3 separate regions of the Homo sapiens genome follow, and all the other regions are linked to region 1. Evidence: promoter capture Hi-C in 16 types of primary human blood cells and fetal thymus (Javierre and others, 2016). All regions are on one chromosome and are shown on one strand. Each heading gives the region's core, a stretch centred on a gene start or on the middle of the fragment in contact. The rest is flanking DNA. Distances are from core to core; before and after follow the strand shown.

Region 1 (4,228 bases), core at 598-3,097:
GTGAATGGGTATGATTATCCCTTCATTTTACAGATGGGAAAACTGAGGCTCAGAGGATTGAAGTCTTCTGCCCAAGTTCTACATCTGTGAGTGGTCAGAACAACAACTGCAAAGCCCAGTGCTCTGTGCCGGCCTCGGCGCATCTCAGACCACGGTGGCCTCAGGACCTTCTTCTGAAATATCTTTTCATCTCCTGACCCTCCCCTGCCGTCTGTTCTGGGCCCTTTGTGCAGCTGACCACGCAAAGAGCAGGAGAGCAGGACCCACAGACTTCCTTCTGGCTGGGCCAGGCCAATTGTCCCCACCTAATCCAGGGCAGGCTCCTTCTCAGTCACTTCCAAGGTCCCCCCTACAACCAGGAATCCCTGCGGTCTCTCACCTGAACCCTCGCGTTCTCTCCCACACCACAAGACTCAGCAGGTCCGCCCCTTGTCCCCCTGTGCTTTTCTAAAAGAAAGGAACTGCTGATAAGCGAGACCTGGGTGGGTGAAAGAACTCGCTCAGGGTCCCACAGAGCTCAGGCAGAGCCCAGACCTCCCGACCCGAGTCCAGGGCTATATCCAGGCCTGGCTCCACAGGACCACAGGGCCCCACATGCAAATAGGAATAATAAGCGCCAAAACACACAACCCATGCACAAAAACACTCAATAACAAATGCTGGCAAACGTGAAGTGCTATCAAAGTATATAATCATAAATCCAACTGTTACACCTTTCAACAAGAATCTGGGAGCAAGAAAAGTGTTCATGTGTGGATGTGCTTATTTCTCAAATACTATACATTCCTCAACTGCTTACTTTCATTAATAAGACCCAAATTACGGAACAAAGGATAAACAGTCAATCTCACAATCACTACCCCTAGACCACCATACCACAACACCCCCAATTAAAAAAACGGCTACAAGCTTTGATTTCCCAAAACACTTCTATCCTGTGGGAAACTGCCGGGTTCTAAAACATCTCCAAATTAATACTGCCAGTTGTCTTAGTTGGTTTCCTGCTTGCTGATCAAAAACAGGGTTGACATCTGCTTTCTCCAGCAACTACTGACCACACAAATTACCTACTCTAGCTCCACAGCACTTAAGTTACTCCCAAAACGTTACTTCTCATCCTGCATTTTCCTGGCCTTGCCCATAATAAAATTACGTGCAGGAGCAGCTGACGGAGCTCACTAGGCCTAGCACCTCCTAGGCTGCAAGAAAGGTGCAGAGGCCTCGCAGGGGAGAGCTGTAATATGAGAACCGGGATTCCAACCTGGGCTCAGCCTGCCCTGCCGCCCGGCAACTGTATGACCTTGGGCACAGAGGTCAACCTCCCTGAGCCTCAGTTTCCTCAACTGCAGCGCTGGAATCCTAACTCCGGGGGAAAGAAAGGCTCTCATCCCAGTCCCCGGCGCAAAGCTGGGGATGATCGCGCAGAGCCAGGACGCACCCGCGCTGGCCGGCTGGAGCTAGTCCCCGCGGTTCTGGGACTGCGCGGCAGCCCCCAGTGGCCCCTACGCCGCTCGAGATCAGCCAAGCCGGGCCCACACCGGGCCTCGCGGCGCGTCAGGAAAGCCAGGCCCGAGGGATGCTCGCGAGGCCCTCCCGGCCTCCGGGGCCTGTTTCCCCGCCTCCCTCCCCCGAACCACTTCCCGTAGAGGGCCCCGGGGACGTAGCCCGGCCGTCGGTCCTCGGGCCCCGGGGCCGAGCCCCCGCCTCGCCACGCGTCCTCAGCGCCCCGGCGCCGCGCCCCGCCCCGCCTAACCCGAGGCTGCGGCCCCTGCTCCACAGCGGGAGGCTGGAGGCGGCGGCTACTCACCGAGCGGCGCCGCGCGTGGCCGCCTTTGTATTGCAAACACCCAGCCCGCCGCCGGCTGTCAGCGCAGCTCGCCTTCGGGGGCGGGGCAGGGGCGGGGGCAGAGGGCAGGGGCGGGGCAAGCGGGGCGGTGCGAGGGGGACTCGGGACGCGCTGGTGGCCCGGCTGCTTTCAGGGCCTGCTGGCCGGCCCTGCCCGCTCACCCCTGGCCGCCTATCTTAGCGTTCCTGGGGGTGGGGCCCCTTAGGCCGCCTTTCTGATTTTCCTTTCCAGAGCCAAACTCGTGTGTTTCTTCAACACTCTGACTTGACCTATGCCGATGACTGGGGGAGTGAGGACGGAGGGGTGCAGAGAAAAGGCAGCCAGGTAAAAGTCCAGGTAAACCACCCAGGGCCTGGCCGCGATCACGTCGGTCCTATGGGTCCCGCTTATCACCAGTGGCGGGATCTGAGCCCGTCCTTGACTTTACTGACCCTCGCCCTTCGTTTCTTCCACCTTAAAGGCGCAATCGCGTTGACCTATCGCCATCTCTTCTTAGCTTCTCCACGCCGGGCCACCCCTGTCCTTCATCCTGATGGTGACAGCCTCCACTCCCGCCTCTGCCAAGCGGTGGTCCAGGTGCGGAACGGTGGCTCTGAACAGGAGGGACAGGCAGCTCCCTGCGCCTCTCCAGCCGGGAGGCAGGCAGCGGATAAACAATGAGCCACATAACGTCTGGTGGTGAAATGATTTCCATCAATGGGAGGGTGTCATATTTGAACTGAAACTCTAAATGACAAGAAACACCTATGACTACAAAGATGGGGAGGAGGCAGGGCTTTCTGGAGAGCAGAAATGGCAGGTGCAAAGGTCCTGGGGCCGGTGCTGTGGGCTGGAGGGAAGGCAGGGGCCAAATATTCAGGTCTTGTAGGCCAAGGCAAGGAGTTTAGGTATTATTTAAATGTTATTCCAAACCAATTCTTTTTGAGACAGGGTCCCACTCTGTCACCCAAGCTACAGTGCAGTGGCACAATCTCGGTTCACTGCAGCCTTCACCTTCTGGCCTCAGGCAATCCTCCTGCCTCAGCCTCTCAAGTAGCTGGGACCACAGGTGCATGCCACCACGCCCAGCTAATTTTTCAAACTATTTGTAGAGACCAGGTCTCCCTATGTTGCCCAGGCTGGTCTCAAACTGCTGGGCTCAAGCAGTCTTCCCACCTTGGCTTCCCAAAGTGCTGAGATTACAGGTGTGAACCACCACGCCTGGTCCAAAAAGAATTTTAAACCTGGGAATTATATGATCTAATTTACTTCTTTAAAAAGTCACCCCTCCACTCCATGGAAAATGGACTGCAGGAGTAGAAGCCAGCAGACAGGTGGCACTGCAGGAAACCGGGGGACATGATGGTGGCTCAGATTACAGGGGCTACTCAGCAAGAAGCGGAAGGACTTCAGAGAGATTTGGAGGCAAAACCCACAGGCTTACTGATGAATGGAACCGGTGGAGGTGTGTGATGCGATACTCAAAGGCAAGTCTCAGTGTGGAGATGGAACCGCTGCTCTGCTGAGATGCAGAGGGCCAGGGAGGAGGCCAGCTTAGAAACAGCATCGAATGCGGCAGCTTAGTGAATTGGATAAGCCAGCAAGCTTGAGATAGATGTTTGGGGACAGCTGCTTGGAGAGCTTTGTCCAGGGGCGCGGCTCCCGTCCATCTGGTCAAGTGTGGACACGCTCCCGCTGGGCTTGGGGCAGCTCCTATCTAGGCAGCCTGTCCCATGCTGACATTGCAGACGTGGGAGCTACACAAAGAGAATCTTGCAGTTTGTAGGTGAGCTACCTCCACAGGGGTTTTCTCAGAGACCAGAGTTTCAAGTGCATCACGGCTGCCCAAAACTGCTGAGGTTGCAAGGCCCCAGAAGGAAGCCCTCCTGCACCCTCCCCTCCCACCTCCAGGGAGGAGCTGGCCTGGGAAGAAGTCTACTCTATGTGGAAAGGCTTTCCAGGAAGCCAGTCCAACTTCAGGCCACTTAAGTTTATTTTTTGTGTAAAATAAGTCCATTATTCAAATGTGGAGATGGGAGGTCTGAAAATATAGGACAATTCAACTCAAAGCCCTCATTCTGAAAATGATGAGCTGGGGGGCCCAGCACGGCTAGGGTCAGCTCTGATGAGCAGGGTCTGGCTGGATTCAGAGCAAATTAGGTCCCGCTGCTGCCCAGCCTACCACCTCGGGGAAGGCCAAGGGTTGGGGGGAGCCTTTTGTATAAACAAGCAATGAGAAGAAAACACTCACTAGATCACAGTGCACTCCCAGGCGATAAACGAAACCGGACTTTCCAAAGCCCTGGCGCTTTTGATCAGGCACTGGCTGGAGTCCCCCTGGGAGGGCCCTTGGCTGTGCTATCAGCAACCAGGCCTGACTGAGCAGTGACTCAGCCAGGAGAG
Region 2 (4,228 bases), core at 887-3,386, 2.9 Mb after region 1:
GGACAGAGGGGGGGATGGGAGGAAGAGGGGTGTGGGGAGAGTTGGGGGAGGATGTGGGGGCAGAGGGTGGAGGAAGCAGTGAGAGGATAAGAGGAGGATGGAGGGGATTGAGGGAAACAGCTGGAGGCTGAGGAAAGATGGGGTTGGGGGGTGGTGGGAAGGGTAGTGGATGCTGGGGGAGGCAGCCTTCTATTTCCATAGGACAAATTTGATACTCTTCTAATCCCTTCAGTGGCCTTCTATTTCCCTAGAACAAATTCCCAAATGGTACTTAACACTCAAGGCCCTTCAGAGGCTGACCCCTGCTCCATCTACTGCCCCCTCCCATGCTGCCACCCCAGCCCCAAGGCTGGCAAATATTGACAGTTCCTGGAACTTTGGGCCACCCTCCTTCTCATCTCTATTCTTTTCCAAAGTGTTGTTCCCCGACCTGGACATTCTTCCTAGCCCCATCCAACTGATGTGATGGACAAACTATACTTCAGATACAGCTGGAGGTGCGGGGGGGGGGGGTCCCTTCTTTTGTGAACCTTCCTAGTGGACCCCAAGCAGAGTTGGTAACTCCATCCTCTGTGCTTACCTCCTTACTGCACTGTGCCTAGGACATGGTCAGGACTCAGAAAGGCTGTGCTAAATAACGCACATTTAACCTGTTTCCTTGTCTTCTCCCCTACTCTAAGGTTGGCTTCATCCTTATATCCTACTGATATGGTTTGGCTCTGTGACCCCACCCAAATCTCATCTCGAATTGTATTCCCCATAATCCCCACGTGTCAAGGGAGGGACTTGGTCGGGGGTGATTGGATCACGTCAGCGGTTTCCCCCGTGCTGTTCTCGTGATAGTGAGTGAATTCTCACGAGATCTGTTGGATGTAAAAGGGGCTTTTGACCCTTTTGCTGGGCACCTCTCTTCCTGCAGCCATGTGACGAAGGACGTGTTTGCTTCCCTTTCCGCCATGATTTTAAGTTTCCTGAGGCTTCTCCAGCCATGCAGAACTGTGAGTCAATTAAACCTCTTTTCTTTATAAATTACCCTGTCTCAGGTGGTTCTTTATAGCAGTGTGAAAACGGGCTAATACACCTACCATACTTCTAACCCCCAACGCCTGACCCACCCTGCCCTGTTTACAACAGTGGCTGGCCTTAGCAAGTCATTATCGAAGAAATCACACCATTTAGGACTCCACTGTACACGTTGGGGTGTTCGCTCCTTGTTTCATGAGGGGCACACCAACTTCCGTTTTTGTTTGTTTGTTTGTTTGTTTGGAGATAGGATCTTGCCCTGTTGCCCTGGCTGAAGTGCAGTGGTGTGATCTCAGCTCACTGCAGCCTCGAACTCCTGGGCTCAAGTGATCCTCTCACCTCTGTCTCCTAAGTGGCTGGGACTACAGGTGTGCAACACCACGCCTGGCTAAGTTTTGTATTTTTGTATTTTTTTTTTTTTTTTTTTTTTTTGTAGAGAAGAGGTCTCTCCATGTTGCCCAGGCTGGTTTCAAACTCCTGAGCTCAAGTGATCCTCCGTCTTGGCCTCCCAAAATGCTGGGATTACAGGAGTGAGCCATTGTCCCCACCCCGCACCAACTTCTGATGAAGTCAGGCTCCTTATTGGCTTTTTCCTGAGTTGCCAGGTTGACACATTGGTGGGTGCTTTTCGATGGTTCGCAACCTACGCACGTCGTAATCATCCTTGGACCTTTTCAAAAATCAAGATTGACGCTTGTTGGCAGCAAGGCCTAGGAATGTGGAGGCTGAAGGAGGTGAGGGGAGGTGCTGGGAGACCTGGAAGGAGTGTGAACTACAGGCCCCGCGAAAGGCAGAGGTCTCGCTCCTGGATCCGGAAGAAGGCTGCTGAGCGGGCTTTCATTTCTTATGTATGTGCAGTTTCTTCTGAAGATATAATTGATGTTTATTTCTCTGAATAAGCTTGATTATAATGGAAAATAGGGATAATAAATTAACTGTAATAAGAGTGACATTGACACTGAAAAACCTTGCCTGGGGCGCTTGTCCTGGGTGTCCCCGCCCCGCGGCCCCTCCAGCCCCGCCTGCTCTACGCCCCGCCCCGCCCCTCCCCTCCACGCCCAGGGGGCGTGGCAACCCGGAGTCCCTCCCCTACCCAGGGCACGTGATCTGTCAGTTCGCGGAGAGGGAAGAATATGGCCGCCGGGTGTGGTGAGGGCGACGCGCTTGCAGTCGCCGTCTCTTGCTTCCCCGTCCTCTGACATCGCCTGCAGCCGAGCGGGCCCGTTCCGCCGGAGCTGAGGACCAGGTTGGGAGACCGTCAGTGTGGAGGCCGGTCCGCGAAGCTTTGCCGCGGGATTGGGGAGGAGTCGGGGGCGAGGCCGGGCTCGGGGAGTCGGGCGGGGAGGTGGGACAGCCGAGGAGTGCGCGGAAGGGGCGAGCTCGGACCGGGGGTCCCGGGGAGGGCATGGCGCGGGCCCCGGACGCTCGGGCCCCGGCTTTCGGGGCGAGTCCGCGTTTCCTGGAGCGCCGGGAAGGTCTCCGACCTTGGAGTCTCTGGTGGTCTGTCTCCTGAGGGGCCCCTCGGGTGGGTTGGGGTGAAGGGTGTTGGTAAAACCGTTTTTTTTCTTTTGCCAAGCAGCCTCTGGCACATCCACCACCTTGAGAGCCCCCTTAGCTGGTACCGCTAGTCTTTCTAGGTTCCTCCTCCTAGGCTTCCACGGGCCGGGAGGTGTTGTTTTCTCCCTTGCTTTTATCGTGGGCTCCATTGCTCCATTGTCCTGTGCAGGCTTTTAAACGCCTGGCAAAATAGTGCAAGCCATTGATTTCCACGCCTCCAAGATTTATTTATAGGGAAATAATTTCTTCATCACTTTGTAATGTTGGAATTTTTATTCTTTCAAGTTGACAGGTTTAAACCGATGAAAAATTTTTTTATGAATAACTATGCAGCCATCTCTGCTCCCTATGGGCGCTTGTTAAAAATGTAGATTTCTTAGCGTTTTAGAGATTCCCATTCCTTCGGCCTGAGGTGTGGCTCGGGAATCACCCCTTCAGGTTCGTTCCTGTCCACATTTTGACAACACTGAGGACCAGACATCTACACCTTTTTAAACCACCGTGGGGTATTGAGTGCAGAGCCCAGGTTGGGAAATGCCGTGGCCAGGTGTGTTCTTTGTTCTCTTCTAGCTTTACTAGCATGGACTACTTTCATCAGAATCATTTTGGGGTGCTTGTTAAAATGTCAGTTTCTGGGCACCACCCCAGATCTAGGGAATGGGATTCTCCCGGGGAGGAGCTCAAGGGATATGTGTATTTGACAAGCTTCCCAAATAATTTTGGTGCACACAAGTTTGAGAATCCTTGTTCTACACCCTTTGTGTGAATAATTTCCAGATCATTCACACACAGTGTGAACGGTATCTTTTTCCAAGTATTGGGTGGGTTTCTCCAACCTAGTTCTTTTGGGACACTTCAAATTCAGCCTGGCCAAAGCCCCATTCGCCCAGCTGGGGTGGTGGAAGGGAGGAGGCATAACTTAAGTAGAGAAAAGTCTGCTCTTTCTCCTGCTTTTTTTTTTTTGGTTAAGGGCAGCTCCATTCTTCAGTCACCTATGCTGGGCATCTGGTCATCTTCCACCTGTTTTCTTTTCCAACCAGTCACATAGTTTTATCTTTATATCCAGAATATCTCTTCTGGATATTTTGGTAGTTCAGAAAGTTCAAATGTCAGGGATTTTATATTTTTCAAGTTAATATCCCTCATTTCTTCTCTATTCCCACTGCCTCTCTTGTGTACTGTCTGGTGATTCCTTGACTGGTATCTAGGGCCCTGATTCTTTGTATTTTTCCAGTCTGGGTCACATACACTGCCAGATTAATTTTTATAGGATCATGTATGAATGTGCCATCCCCTTCTTCCTGCTTTTGCTCAAGAACGGTCAGTTTCTCCATTTTATGTGCTACTGTATTTGTCAGGGCTGTTTAGAAGACAGTAGAAACTTAAACCTTTTACTTCAAGGAAAAGGAGATAATAGGATTGAATGAGAGTCAGAAAGAAGTCAGGATCCCAGGTACCTCCATTTTCTACATCTCCCTGGGGCAACTTTTTTTTTTTTTTTTTTTTTTTGAGACAGGGTCTGGCTCTGTTGCCCAGGCTGGAGTGCAGGTGGTGTGATCTTGGCTCACTGCAGCCCTGACCTCCTCTTAGGGGCCACATTTGTTCTCTTACTTAGGAGGAGTCTCTTTTCTGTTCATATCTGTTGTAT
Region 3 (4,228 bases), core at 542-3,041, 2.3 Mb after region 1:
TGACTTGATAAAGGTCCAAACTCCTGTGTATACGAGGTGCTTCCTAAACTGGACCTCAACTGCCTGTCGCTTCATCTGCTAACTCAACTCTTTAGCTACAGCCATGAGGAATCTGGCCACAAGCTGTGACCACTCTCACTTTCATATGTGCCACTTCCACTGCCTAGAACATCCTGGGCCCCCCAGTCTTTAACTCCTACTCATTCTTTAGGACTCAGCTCAGGCATCACATTTTTCAGGATCCACGAGGTATCCTTTTTTCCTCAATCTGTCAGAAATCCCTTTTCCATACTTTCACAGTGCTCAGTGCAATGCCTGCCTGCGTTCTTAGATTAGCTATTATTTACAAAGCACCTACCGCGATGTTCACTCTTCAAGTTTTATCTTATTTCCATATGAGAAAACGGGTTCAGTGAGATTGTTGTCCTACTAATTGGTCAAGTAGATAATGGACTTCAGGTCTGACTTCAAAGTAATAGTCTCCTATTATTCCAAAGTATCTCTCCAATATTTCCCACTGTGCACTGTAATTCTCTCCAAAAGAGCGAGAGCAATTAACTGGGCCCTCTGTTGCGTCTATATCCCCATGTGTGGTGCTTGACACTTGCTCAGTGTTTGCTCATCACAGGAAGACATGACAGGTGTGAACTAAGCAGAAGGAAACGGACTATGTCCCAAGCAGGTGCTCAATGAAGCCTTACTGAATGATTGTGTAAAGGAGATACTTTCTACCTTTTGGAAAGCGTATATTCATGTTGTGCCAACTAGTATCTAACAATAAACATGTTGTGGGTTCGAAATGCTCATCTGTAGGAATTCAAGTTCTCTACATTTGCATCTCCCCTTCAGCAGCATTCCCGACTGATGAGGATCGTGTCCACTGAAAGGCCACTCTCCTTATGGACAGTCGAGGGCTGAGTTTTTGTCCCTAACACCTCTGCACTTTCTCTTCTCCAGCTTTACACCTTCCTTATTCTACTAGGGCCTGAGCTGAGAAGATCGAAACTCACGGCAAGTCCCTAATATTTTCTAACTTCTGGCACATGTGAAGCCCTGGTGTTAAGAAACAGACTTAATTCTTCCCTGCACGGCTGTAGCCTCATTCAGGTCCTCCTCTCATCCTGTCGGTCATAAGCTTCACCGGCTCCCTCACAGCTTGCCCTGACGCGCAGAGATCCGTGCTTGTGCTAAGTGAAAACGCTTCTTAGCGTGTACGAAAGCGAGCGGTGGCCCCGTAAAACTTTTTTTTTTCCGACTCCAACATACCCTCCCCTGAAACTGATGAAAAAGCAAAATCCCGTTCACTCTATAGCAGGCCCCTTCCGATCAACGGTCCTCCAACCCCTCGAGCCTGAGAAGCCTGGCCCGCAAGCGCGGACCAAAGGCAGGCTGCCGGGGTAGGTGGGAGCGCGGGCGACGGAGGAGGCCAGTCTCCGGTTACCCCTCGCGCCCCTCACAGCCCGTGGCTTCATTCCCTCTCTCGCTGGTCCCTTACAGGGGTCGGATCAGCAGCTGGTCGCTCTCCTCAGCAGGAATCGCAGACATCCCGAAAGTGTGAGGGCGAAGCGGGGGTGAGGAACAGGTCGCCGGGGTCTTCCTAAATTGGAAGCACAGCCACCGGTAAATAAAAAAGGAAGAACCCCATTCACCAAGAGCACAACTTCCGTCACTCCGGAGCCCGCGGCACTAGACTCCTCCCCTCGACTTCCGGTCGGGGGACGCCGCTCGCGAGGCTTCCCACCACTTGGGGTCTTGGAACCGGGGGTAGGACGTCAGGACTGCGCCTGCGCATAGTCTTGGAGGCGCGGCCCGGCGGACGTGGGCAGGAGGGCTGGAAAAGCCGGCGCTGGAGCGGGAACGGGAGTAGCTGCCTGGGCGCCAAAGGCCGCGGCACTCCCACGCGGACCCCGAAGTCCGCAACCCGGGGATGGGCCCGCGGCTGCGAGGTGAGCGCCCAGCCCTCGTCCCGCTTGGGGCCGAGCTCGCGGAGGCCTGACGGGAACACGGTCCCGAGAGCGGCGCGGACGGCCAGGAAGGATGGGTGGGGCCGCGGGGCGGGCGGAGGAGGGATGCCTGGGCTCGGGCTTGGTTCCGGGCGGGGCCGCGCTCCCGGGGCGCGGGTGGAGGAGCTTGGAACCACGCAGATCGGGCGTGGGCTTGCGGACTGCAGCTTCCCGAGCCGCTGTCGCCCCGGAGGGGCGGCAAGGCGGGCGGCCGCGGGCCGTTTCCTTGCCTCTTCCTCTGCCCCGCTTCGGCCGCCTCCCGCCTCTCAGGGTCGGGGTTGTCTGTCCCCTTCGCTGTCACATCCTCCGCACCCAGCGCTTGGAAGGTGCTCCATCACGGTGACAGACAGGTGCCAAGCAGGCTGGCGTCTGGGAGGAACTTCGGAGCCGGCTCTCCCTAGGCCCCGAGCTTGGCCGCATCCGTCCTTACTCTGGTGACCCTGGGCAGGTCACTGACTCTTCGGGCGCTTTGGCATCCTCGTTTGAAAGGGGCTGTTATCCTGCAGCCTTGCTGGTCGGTGAGGGTGAGGGTGAGAGGGATCTGTGCACCTAGCACCGTGCATGGCACGTGGTAGGCGTTTGGTACATGGGAATCGCTGTTGGGGTGTCACCTCCCCAGAAAGTTCTCGGCTTCAGTAAGCGCGTCCCCTGCCAGGCGCCCTGGCAATGCAGAGGAGTCACCGAGCTCCGCCTTTGACCAGCGTGCAGCTGGGAGAGTGAGATCAGAGACCACAGCAGATCGTGGCGCTGTGATCAGGGGGTACACTCAAGCTGTGGGTCCCTTACCCCAGCCTTGAGATCCCAGGAAGGCCTGCAGCCTGAAACGGGCCTTGAAAGGTAAGAAGTAGCCAAGTGCCTGACAGGTGAAGGACGTCCCGGGCGGTGCAAAGCAGGGGCGCGTGGAGCATCGCGCTGAGAACCAGGAGCAGCTTTGCCTTGCTGAGATCAATGAACTGTGCCCGGGTTGTGGAGGATGGAAGTGGAAAGGTGATTAGGAGCTGGGTCCTGGAGGACCTGGCGTGTCGTGCTGAAGAACGTTGACTTTGGTCTCTGACTTTGGAGAACCAGTGAAAGATTTTCAGCAGGCTAGTGGCATTAGATTCATGTTTGAAAGAAATCATTTTAATCGTTTTGGCTGCAGTGTGGGGGTAGATTTAAAGTGTTAGGGAATCCAGTAGGACAAGGTCCCTTATCCACGAAATATCCTTGGGTTTGTGAATTCCTTAAATTCATGCCAAACTTTGTATGGATGTGCATTTTTATAGGGTGAGGATCCATCACATTCATCAGTTTCTAAAAAAATAGTGTCTGTGCCCATGGTTTAGGATGACGGGGGCCCTGGTGGAGAGCTGGCTCAGAGAGCTCTTCAGGTGGGGTATACAGTGGGTCTTGGTGCCAGATTGGATGTGGGGCCTGAAGGACAGCAAGGAAATCATGATTTTCTGGCTTCCTCCAGCAATAATAGAATCTCCTGACAGGGAGAGGAGAGGAGAGGAGCAGATCTGGAGGGGAGGATGATGGGTTCAGCTTGAGACATCTTTGCATTTGATGAGCCTGCGGAGCATCCAATCGCCAATCAGGATCATTGGCCTCATTTTGATGCATGAATAATTTTTTTTTTTTTTTTTTGAGACGGAGTCTCGCTCTTTCGTCCAGGCTGGAGTGCAGTGGCGCGATCTCGGCTCACTGCAAGCTCCGCCTCCCGGGTTCACGCCATTCTCCTGCCTCAGGCTCCTGAGTAGCTGGGACTACAGGCGCCCACCACCACGCACAGCCAATTTTTTGTATTTTTAGTAGAGACGGGGTTTCACCATGTTAGCCAGGATGGTCTCGATCTCCTGACCTCGTGATCCGCCCGACTTGGCCTCCCAAAGTGCTGGGATTACAGGCGTGAGCCACCCATGAATAATTTTGAGGCAAGAATGATTTGCTTGAGAACATGCATCAAAATTGCAGCAGATATCAAAGACTTTAATAAATGCTGCTTTTTCCTAAGCCGCTGGGTTGATGATGAAAAGAAAGCCTTAAGGAGTTGCTAAGGCATTGTCGTGTCATGATTTTCATATCAAGGGATTTGAGGAGACACTTCAGGATTCCACTGACAGTAGAATCACATTTTGTTTTTAAAATAAGTTTTGATTTAAAATTCAAATCATATTTAAAATTGTTACCTATATATAAATATGTATTTATATATACTTAAGTATCTGATGTTTAAATATGTT

Evidence for each region. Contacts are between HindIII fragments. The CHiCAGO score rates a contact against its expected background, and 5 or more counts as called.
Region 2: a contact is called between the fragment with the promoter of KIDINS220 here and the fragment with the promoter of LPIN1 in region 1, in 4 of 17 cell types (naive CD4 T cells, naive B cells, non-activated CD4 T cells and 1 more). The highest score is 12.0, in naive CD4 T cells.
Region 3: a contact is called between the fragment with the promoter of ITGB1BP1 here and the fragment with the promoter of LPIN1 in region 1, in 2 of 17 cell types (naive CD8 T cells and total CD8 T cells). The highest score is 6.2, in naive CD8 T cells.

The regions. Positions count from the first base shown.
Region 1 is chr2:11,744,251-11,748,478 of GRCh38, reverse strand. It overlaps LPIN1 (lipin 1), which reads right to left and starts at 1,847. Exons shown (of 21, transcript NM_001349206.2): 1 at 1,808-1,847. It overlaps LOC124907735 (a long non-coding RNA gene), which reads left to right and starts at 3,020. Exons shown (of 2, transcript XR_007086220.1): 1 at 3,020-4,228. RefSeq lists enhancers at 1-595, 3,107-3,680 and a silencer at 1,599-2,168. The HindIII fragment of the contact is 2,521 bases long and covers 912-3,432 here.
Region 2 is chr2:8,835,521-8,839,748 of GRCh38, reverse strand. It overlaps KIDINS220 (kinase D interacting substrate 220), which reads left to right and starts at 2,136. Exons shown (of 30, transcript NM_020738.4): 1 at 2,136-2,269. RefSeq lists silencers at 1,960-2,009, 2,020-2,079. The HindIII fragment of the contact is 383 bases long and covers 1,926-2,308 here.
Region 3 is chr2:9,421,091-9,425,318 of GRCh38, reverse strand. It overlaps ITGB1BP1 (integrin subunit beta 1 binding protein 1), which reads left to right and starts at 1,791. Exons shown (of 7, transcript NM_004763.5): 1 at 1,791-1,946. CPSF3 (cleavage and polyadenylation specific factor 3) reads right to left here and starts at 1,665. Exons shown (of 18, transcript NM_016207.4): 1 at 1,496-1,665. The coding sequence starts at 1,545. RefSeq lists enhancers at 1,429-1,478, 1,519-1,568, 2,439-2,488, 2,482-3,340 and a silencer at 1,999-2,298. The HindIII fragment of the contact is 3,929 bases long and covers 1,138-4,228 here.